Linked DNA regions of Homo sapiens: regions 2 and 3 are each linked to region 1. Evidence: promoter capture Hi-C in human tissues and cell types (Jung and others, 2019). All regions are on one chromosome and are shown on one strand. The core of a region is centred on a gene start or on the middle of the fragment in contact, and the rest is flanking DNA. Distances in the headings are between cores, read along the strand shown. Region 1 holds the start of GPR15 (G protein-coupled receptor 15). Region 2 has its middle 21 kb from the start of ST3GAL6-AS1. Region 3 has its middle 5.1 kb from the start of OR5K3.

Region 1 (2,935 bases), core at 250-2,749:
GGTGGGGATGAAGGTACCATGGTTTTTGAGAGAGGAAAGGCCCAAATGTGCATTAACAATCATGAAGAAAGGGACTGGTTCAAGCAGGAGCCTTTATCCAGGAGTTCAAGGACAGATGGGAATTGGATTTTGTCTGGTGGACTTGATTGGCAAGGGTCGAAGAAGGCTGCTTAGCTGAGAAAACAGCACATGGCCTAATTATATCCACAACACAGGGATTTTTCAGTCCTCTCTTTAAAAATGAACTCTTCCTTGCATCTATGAAGCAATGTGAATCCTATCATTAACACTTCCTTCTTTGTTGCTGACAAAAATTAACTCCTAAACCCACCAACAGAGCTTGAAATGTCACAGTTCCCTTTAGAGTGACACAGACCTCTTCCTCCTCCTGGCAAAATCTTCTGCATGAATGAAGGTGGAGAGAGCCTTAGTGAGGTGACTATCTGATGTCTCAGTGCTACTCCCAAAGTCATAGTTTTTCAGGCAAGGGCACAAGCAGTGGACAATGGCCCGGCGGATGTAGCTGTCGAAGATATAGTAAATGAAAGGGTTGACACAGCTGTTGGCAAATGCCAAGGGTCCACTCACCTCCATACCAAGCTGAAGAATAGCTGAGGGTAAATAGTGTTCTTGCCGCAACCCAGAGACAATGGCCAGGAACTTGAAAGTATTGAAGGGCAGCCAGGAGACAAGAAAGGCTGCCACGACAATAAAGATGATCTTTATAGATTTCTTCAGCTTTTTGTTGTGCTTTCCTGATTGCTGGTAATGGGCACACAGCTTCCTTGCAATGCAACAGTAGCAGGTCACAATGCTCAACAAAGGGACAAAAAAGGTGAAAATTAAGGCCACCAGGGACCATATGAGTTTAATTGGAGTTGCCTTTTTCTCTGCACAGTATGGCTTATCATCAATCAGCGTGAGCTCCCTGGACAGAAGAGTAGGCAACCCCAGCAGGCAGGAGATAAACCAGATGCTGGCACAGACTACATATGCACAGTCTGTCCTTCTGAATTTCCTGGATACGACTGGCCACACAATGGCCAGGTAGCGGTCAACACTCATGCAAGTGAGCAGGAGGACACTGCAGTGCATATTGACGGAGATCATGTAGGAGCTCCCTTTGCACAGGAAGGAGCCCGTCCTCCACAGTCCTAGAGATGCTTCTTTATCCACCCAGAGAGGCAATGTGACAAGAAAAATGAAGTCAGAGGCAGCCAGATTGATGATAAAGATGTCGATCAGTCTTCGGCTGCCGGGTTTGAAATGCAACGCTCCCATGAGAACAAGGTTCCCCAGCACTCCAGTCAGGAACACAGCTGTGTAAAAGACTGGAAGGAAGACAGAGGTGTAAGGAACATGGGAGTGGGTCTCCCTGATGTCAGAGTTTGGGCTCGTAGCATAGTAATAATCCAAATAAACTGAAGTTTCTTCTGGGTCCATCACCAAAGAGCAGATGCCAAATCTGGTGAGTTTACTTACATATGATGTTTTTGTATAAATTTTAGAAACCTCAAGGAAGCTTCTTTTATACAGTGCCTGCCTCTCTCTCTCTTTTTTCCCCTCCCTTTAAAGATCTTGGACAAACATGAAAGCCGAGATTAAAAAATGCAGTTTCTACCAATCCTCAGAAAGGGCACACAAGGAGCACCACTCTGATTGGTGTTGGTTGGTTGTGGTTGTGGTTTTTTTAATTTGCATTTGCTCGTGAAACTGAGGTGCTTTTTGAGTTATTTTTTCAAGATATTCAATTTATTTCTTTAAGGCCAGTAATTAAGAAGTGAATTAACTTGATTTTTTCACTTCCTTTAAAGACCTCCTTTGCTTTTGACACTGAAATTTATTTTGATCTAGCCTTCTGTTTCACATAGAAGATATTGTTCTGCTTTTAGAATTGTAAGGCAATGATAATGTATTCTTTTTATTTACTTTGTTGGCGAACTAGGAAGAAAACTAGTCTTTCATTGTGTAAAGAGTGAATGAAAAGTTTCCCAAATCATACCAGTATACAACTAGGTCAAACAACATGATTCCATTTAGGGCATGAGAGTCTCCCCATCTATGTGGCTCTTTCATTTGACATGTAGTCAATCCTGTTTCATAAGTTTTTAAAAATCCCCCCCCAAAGACTGGGACCACGTTTTCTGCTCTTATTATTTTAAGTTTTCCACTACAACTTGCATAGCATCTTGCATATAGTTGGTGCTTTGGAAATTGTAGTTTATTAGGTTTGATTCAGAAAATTCTTTTTGTTATCCAGCATATCTAGTAGAAATGAATTCATTGGGGTCTAACTTCAGGTATTGTTGTTATTTATGTAACTTACAAACACAGGTTTAACAATCTCAAGTTGCTATTTTTACCCTCCTATCTGCTATTGTAATTCAACCAGTGAAGTTCTCTTTTGTTAAGAGTTAACATCATTGATTAGGAGATTTTCTCCCTATTAACCCTCAAATACGCTTCATCAGACTCTGGATCCCCTCTGATCTTCTCTTCATTATACCACACCTGTGTAGCACTGATTTTTTTAGCTTCTGAGCCATGGCCTTCTGGTACCTCCACACATGGGTGAACATCACTTTTGGAATTGCTGATTGCTGATCTGGCAACAGATATACCTATAAGTGACATCATGATGGAGGTGCCAGCATGGACACTATAAAAGGGAAGATTTTTTAGTACATTTAAAACACTTGGGGAACAGGCTAAAACAGAAAGAATTCTATCACATTTTTCTCTCATATGTTTCCTTTTATATTATGATGACCATAGTAAAATATAACACATTTTGAAACGGACTCCATTTATTTCAGCTCTTTACTGGTCAAAGTGACTCAAGGCTCTCTTGCACTATTCTTCTCTCCTATCTGATTTAATCTTCAGAATTCTAGTTTCAGGTTGATATTGCTATTCATAGAAAAATGTATGTTTG
Region 2 (2,935 bases), core at 282-2,781, 180 kb before region 1:
ACCACTCACCCTGTCACTCTCTTTAAATTAGCCAATTGGAATTAGTTTAGCCTGTGCAGTCTAACCCAAGCCAATAGGGGAACCATACAGCAGCAGGGACCACGTGCCTCAGGGATAAGAACCCCTTCCCCTCCCTTGTCCAAGTGTGCGCTCACGATTGCTCCATCTGTAAGGGTGCACCCTTCTATAGAAGTACGTTGTCTTGCTGAGAATTAAAAAGAAAATTTTATATTCGAGCGCTATTTCTTTTGCGGCACTGAAACTTTATTTATAATAGTATGAATGAGCCTGGCATGTGCAGGGAAGAACCAGCAGATCGGTCTGGCTGGAGCATATCATACGAGGGGAGCGTAATGGGCAAGGAAGCCAAAGAGGAGGTAGGAGCTAGATCGTTCATCACGCAGGGCCTCGAAGGCAAGGGTAAGGAATTGGGATTTGATTCTAAATGCGAAAGGAAGTAAATAAAATATTTTACGCAAGGAGTGATTGAATCTGACATATTTTTTAAAAAATCACTCTGAGGTCTACTTGGAGAAAGAATTACAATGATGCAAGAGTGGAAGCAGAAAAGCCAGTCTGGAGACTACTGCAGGACCTGAGGCAAGAGATGACAATGGCTTGGACCATGCTGGCGGCTGTGGATATGGAGCCCAGTGCCATCTAAATTTATCCTAAAGAATGCAGAAAATCAAAGACTAGTCTCATATGAGACAAACTCAAGCCCCAGCAGAATAACAAGTGGGACCCTGAGGAGTATAAATAATGCCAGATCATTTCTTTCTTTGATAGAATGATGAGTCACCTTAATCAGGGGAAGAAGAGTTTCTGGTAAAAAATCTTGAGTCACGCACTTTTTTTTTTTTTAACGTCTCAAGGTAGAATTGTCTAATGCTTAGGTGGTCCACATCTTACAGGTTATCTAGTTTGGTTCCCATATTTCATGAGTAAGAAAAATGAAGTGAACTCATCGTGGTGAGGGTCTTGCCCAAATTAAACCTCTGGAGAGTAGATTCTTTAATGCTCAAGAGGCTTTTTGCAAGGAAAGAACATACTCTTTGGGCATTGTTCAATGCTCAATTTATTAGTCTAATATTCTATTCCCAGTAAAATGCTCAAATTCAGGAAGGATTCCAAAAAATCAGTTCGGGACGGGTGCGGTGGCTCACGCCTGTAATCCCAGCACTTTGGAAGGCCAAGGCTGGCGGATCACAAGGTCAGGAGATCAAGACCATCCTGGCTAACACGGTGAAACCCCATCTCTACTAAAAATACAAAAAATTAGCCAGGCGTGGCAGCGTGTGCCTGTAGTCCCAGCTGTTGGGGAGGCTGAGGCAGGAGAATGGTGTGAACCTGGGAGGTGGAGCTTGCGGTGAGCTGAGATTGCCCTACTGCACTCCAGCCTAGGAGACAGAGCAAGACTCCATCTCAAAAAATAAAATAAAAAATCAGTTCAATGTTTTTTCTGTTCTTTTTTGTGCTTCTGTTTTTTAACCTCTTCGAGGTAAGACTGGATAATGATACCCATCCAACATATTTTCAATATGTTTTGGAAAACAAAGATATTGATAAGCAGGTACTATGCAGAGTGCCAGATTAAAACCTTTAGAGACTCAAAGTTCAAAAATGTTATAGAGTCCATACTCAATATGTAATTCTATATAAAAATAATACTAGTCCATAATGTAAGTGGGAGACCAGCAAGATCCTGATAATTTTCAAATGACTTTTTCTGTAGTTTAAAAATAACCACTTTTTAACTTAAAAAAAGTTCTTTTGATGCCTCTGTTTTTGGTGTCCTAAGAATGTATTTAAGCTGCATTTGGGTAATCCAGTTGCAGTTGAGCATCTGCTGTGCTTTACACTAGATGAGGAAATGGGATATGACAGAGAATGACTGGAGGGCTTCTTGATTGCGTTATCAGAACAGACTTCTCTGAGGAGGGAACTTTCAAGTTGAGGTCTAAATGATGAGGAGAACCCAGCTACGTAAAGATTAATGGAATGAGCAACCCAGGAAAAAGAAAGAAAGAAGAAACAGGATCCTGGACATCAAGTAGCTCCCCATCTAGTCAGGGAGACAGACATAAAAAGAGCTCATTTTGGCCGCGCATGGTGGCTCACACCTTTAATCCCAACACTTTAGGAGGCTGAGGTGGGTGGATTGCTTGAGGTCAAGTGTTCGACACCAGCCTGACCAACATGGTGAAACCCTGTCTCTGCTAAAAATACAAAAATTAGCCGGGCATGGTGGCAGACGCCTGTAGTTCCAGCTTTTTGGGAGGCTGAGGCACGAGAATCACTTGAACCTGGAGGCAGGGATTGCAGTGGGCAGAGATCGTGCCACTGCACTCCAGCCTGGGCAACAGAGAGACTCTGTCTAAAAAAAAAAAAAAAAGGAAAAAGAGAGCTGATTTTAACACAATGCGGTTCCTGCTGCACCAGGCATGAGAACAGGAATCCAGTGGAAGGAGTGATTAATTAGAACTAAGAATTGAGAAAGGGCTGTGCCAAGCAGAATATACAAAATTATAGAGTAGCATTGTAAAGATTTAAACTCTTGCTTCAACAGAGACATTTGTTAAAAAACAGATTACTGGGCTTCACTCCACATTTACTCAGTCAGAATCTCTGAGTTGGCTGCCTAGAAATCTATGTTTTTGACCAAGCACCCTTCTGATGTGAAGACTTTTTGTGATCCTCTGATTTATGGAATAGGTTTTGAAGTTAGGTGACTCGGACATAGGACCTACATCTCACTTTCATCACCTGTGAAATGAGGATAATAATACAATCTTCCTCATTGGGTAACTTTGAGGATTAAACGAGGTTGTATTTATAAAGTGTTATCTATTATGGCTATTATGTGAAACGTATAGCTTTGATCATAGCCGAGTGAAGAACTGAACAAGCTGTCTCTGAGCTCACTTAACATATC
Region 3 (2,935 bases), core at 235-2,734, 140 kb after region 1:
CAGGAAGACTCTCTTTCATGTGCGTCCATGTGAAGAGACCAAACAGGCTTTGTGTGAGCAACATGGCTGTTTATTTCACCTGGGTGCAGGCGGGCTGAGTCCGAAAAGAGAGTCAGCAAAGGGAGATAAGGGTGGGGCCATTTTATAGGATTTGGGTAGGTAAAGGAAAATTACAGTCAAAGGGGGTTTGTTCTCTGGCGGGCAGGAGTGGGGGTTGCAAGGTGCTCAGTGGGGGTGCTTTTTGAGCCAGGATGAGCCAGGAAAAGGACTTTCACAAGGTAATGTCATCACTTAAGGCAAGGACCGGCCATTTACACTTCTTTTGTGGTGGAATGTCATCAGTTAAGGTGGGGCAGGGCATATTCACTTCTTTTGTGATTCTTCAGTTACTTCAGGCCATCTGGGCGTATACGTGCAAGTCACAGGGGATGCGATGGCTTGGCTTGGGCTCAGAGGCCTGACACTCTCTATAGGTGCACCCATGCTGAGCTCCCATGGGAGAAGCCCCAGCTGTGTCTGCAGTGGCGGACAAGGAAGGAAAGAATTCCCCTTCTGTAAGATCTTTCATGAGCACCAAGGCTGCCTGACTGTTAAAGTAGAGCTGCAAAATTTCCCTCCTGAGCCCAGCACTGCAATTGTGTCTCTGCTGAAAGAAACTTCCCACCAGTGGAAAAATCTGGGATTTAAGGCTTGCCATCCAGATTCTTTTGTCCCAGGTATTTTAATAACTCAAGTTAAGGAAACAATAGAATTTTTATAGAGATGCTCCTGATTCTGTTGAGAATTTTGTCTTCTTTGCTTCAGGGTCCTTCATGGTAGGTAGAGACTTCTTTATTAGGAACCTAGACAATCAGTTCAAAAGTAAGTGTAGGCAGTCTTGGCATTGCGTGGTTCCAATATGCACAGATTTCATACTAGTTGAACATATATGGAATTACAGAAAAAAAATAGCTGACCAGGGAAATGTTGACATGGTTGCATTTTGAGACAGATATTCACCCAGAAGAACTGGATTGTTTTGTCCCATGGGGTGTTCCATTGATGAGGTGCTCTCTCCCATACTCTAGGAGTATGAGTTCCTGAGAGCCAGACTATAGTGATTGTTCTTCTGGGTCTAACCACCCGGTGGGGCTGCTATACTCCAGGCTGGTGCTGGGGAAAGTCTGTGAGGGTTCTAGTGATGTTACCTTTCCTCAAAACCACAGCAGTTGGTACCAGTACTGGCTGTGATGGGAGTGGCAGGGGAGTGATGTAGACTTTGTGAGAATCCTTGATTATAGATAGCCTTAGTGTGTTGTTTTTCTTGAATGTTGATTATGATGGTAGTGAACTCGGCATGTGGACAGACTCAGACCTCCTGGTTAGCCAGTGTGTTGCAGGCAGTGGTGGTAGCTGAGGTCAGATACCAGTTTTCTTATTTCTGGGCACACTCTTATTCTATCTAGAGATGCTGTAGTGGACTGTGTTGGCTGGCCTCCAGCCAGGAGGTAGCACTTGCCAAAGAGTACCTGCTCCTGTAATAGTAGCAGGATTTGAGCTTTCCCTGCTTTGCCCAGAGGAGATATTCTGGTTTCTCAGGTGATGGGCAGGGCCATAAAGCTCCTAAATGTTTCTGTCATTTGTGTTACACTACCAGGGAGGGTGGAGGGGCACAGCCAGGTTGGGGCTGTGCTCTGACTCTCCACATGAGTGGCAAGCTGCAGCTTCTCTGAGGGTCAGAGGGCATTTATCAGGCTGCTGGGGTAATGCTCCAGAGGGGAGTGTAACTGCCTCTGTTGCACAGAAGAGAGTTTGCACAGGGAGTAAAGAGTAGCAGGTGGCAGTAAGCCTCACCCAGATCCCACACAGTTGGCAAAGTTGTTCTCACTCCTGAAGTGTTCTGCTAGCAGCACTGAGCTAAGCTCCAGGCAGCCTTGGCAGCCTGGCTCCTGCACTCATGGCTGCAGTGTACTTCCCACTTGCCCCTGGGTTCTGGCCAAGGGAGTTTGCTCCCACTCAATATTATATCCCAAAATTCAACTGGAGGCTTCTTTCAAACTGTGACCACTGTCTGAGCTACTTGGCTGACTTCCCTGAGTCCCTGTGAGGTATAATAAGGAATGAATGGTTTCCCTCAGTCCATGCTAGAGATTGGGAATGCCTGCAAGGTGCTTTCCACTACTGCCTCTACTTTTATATTTCTCACTATTCCCTAAATCAGTCCCAGCTCTGGGTAGGGTAAAGGCCTTCCCCCATGGCCTGGATTTCACGTTCCCTGATGGGGATGTGTATCCTGGATGCAGTCTGTCCCCTTCTCACACTTTGGGGACTTAGAGTTTTTTGGCTGTTTCACAGTGTAGGCTGTAGCCTGCCACTTCTTTCAAACAGCCTGTGCTTCTTTCAGTTTTCTTGTTAAGTTCCTGTGTTGCTTCTTGAAAAAAGTTCACAGCATAAATCTCTACATGCTATTCTGTCCTTTCAAGTGGGAGAGGTGTGCTAACACTGCTTCTAAGCTTCCTTCTTGGAAGAAAAAAAACCCAGCAGAGCAGCCTCTAATATTTATCATTCTGTTTTTCTTTATGGGTATCCCTCTCATTAAATGTCTCATTGATCTCACAATACAATTAGCAACCTGCACCAGGTACAAGCAGATGGTTTTGCTAGTCATAAATGAGCAAACTGGAGGAGAAATAAACTTAAGGGAAGAATGCCTCTTTTTCCCTTGAACAAACTACGGTCAGGCTTCTGAACCTTCTCTTTGGCTGACTTGTGTACTTTCTTGTAAAATCTAGTTCTAGTAAATAATGCAGAAAGACAATCTAGCAAGAATCCTCCCATCCTCAATACCTGATGACCTTCTATATCTGATCAAAATTCTTCCCTTCCCATTCTTGGTATCTGAATACTCTGGCTTGCCTTCAGCAAAAATCCTGTTAGGATTCAGGTGCTATGGATT

What was found. The method cuts DNA at HindIII sites, captures the fragments that hold promoters and counts their contacts. A contact is called where the count stands out against the background at its distance.
Region 2: a contact is called between a fragment that was not itself captured here and the fragment with the promoter of GPR15 in region 1, in 1 of the 25 tissues and cell types used here (H1 embryonic stem cells).
Region 3: a contact is called between a fragment that was not itself captured here and the fragment with the promoter of GPR15 in region 1, in 2 of the 25 tissues and cell types used here (heart left ventricle and mesendoderm cells).

Annotation. Positions count from the first base shown.
Region 1 is chr3:98,530,542-98,533,476 of GRCh38, reverse strand. GPR15 (G protein-coupled receptor 15) reads right to left here and starts at 1,499. Exons shown (of 1, transcript NM_005290.4): 1 at 1-1,499. The coding sequence starts at 1,443. The coding sequence ends at 361. RefSeq lists a silencer at 1,479-1,638. The HindIII fragment of the contact is 5,385 bases long and covers 679-2,935 here.
Region 2 is chr3:98,710,579-98,713,513 of GRCh38, reverse strand. No RefSeq gene overlaps it. Among named protein-coding and RNA genes, the nearest start is that of ST3GAL6-AS1, 21 kb to the left of the region's middle. The HindIII fragment of the contact is 7,906 bases long and covers 1-2,935 here.
Region 3 is chr3:98,394,277-98,397,211 of GRCh38, reverse strand. No RefSeq gene overlaps it. Among named protein-coding and RNA genes, the nearest start is that of OR5K3, 5.1 kb to the right of the region's middle. RefSeq lists an enhancer at 88-690. The HindIII fragment of the contact is 7,160 bases long and covers 1-2,935 here.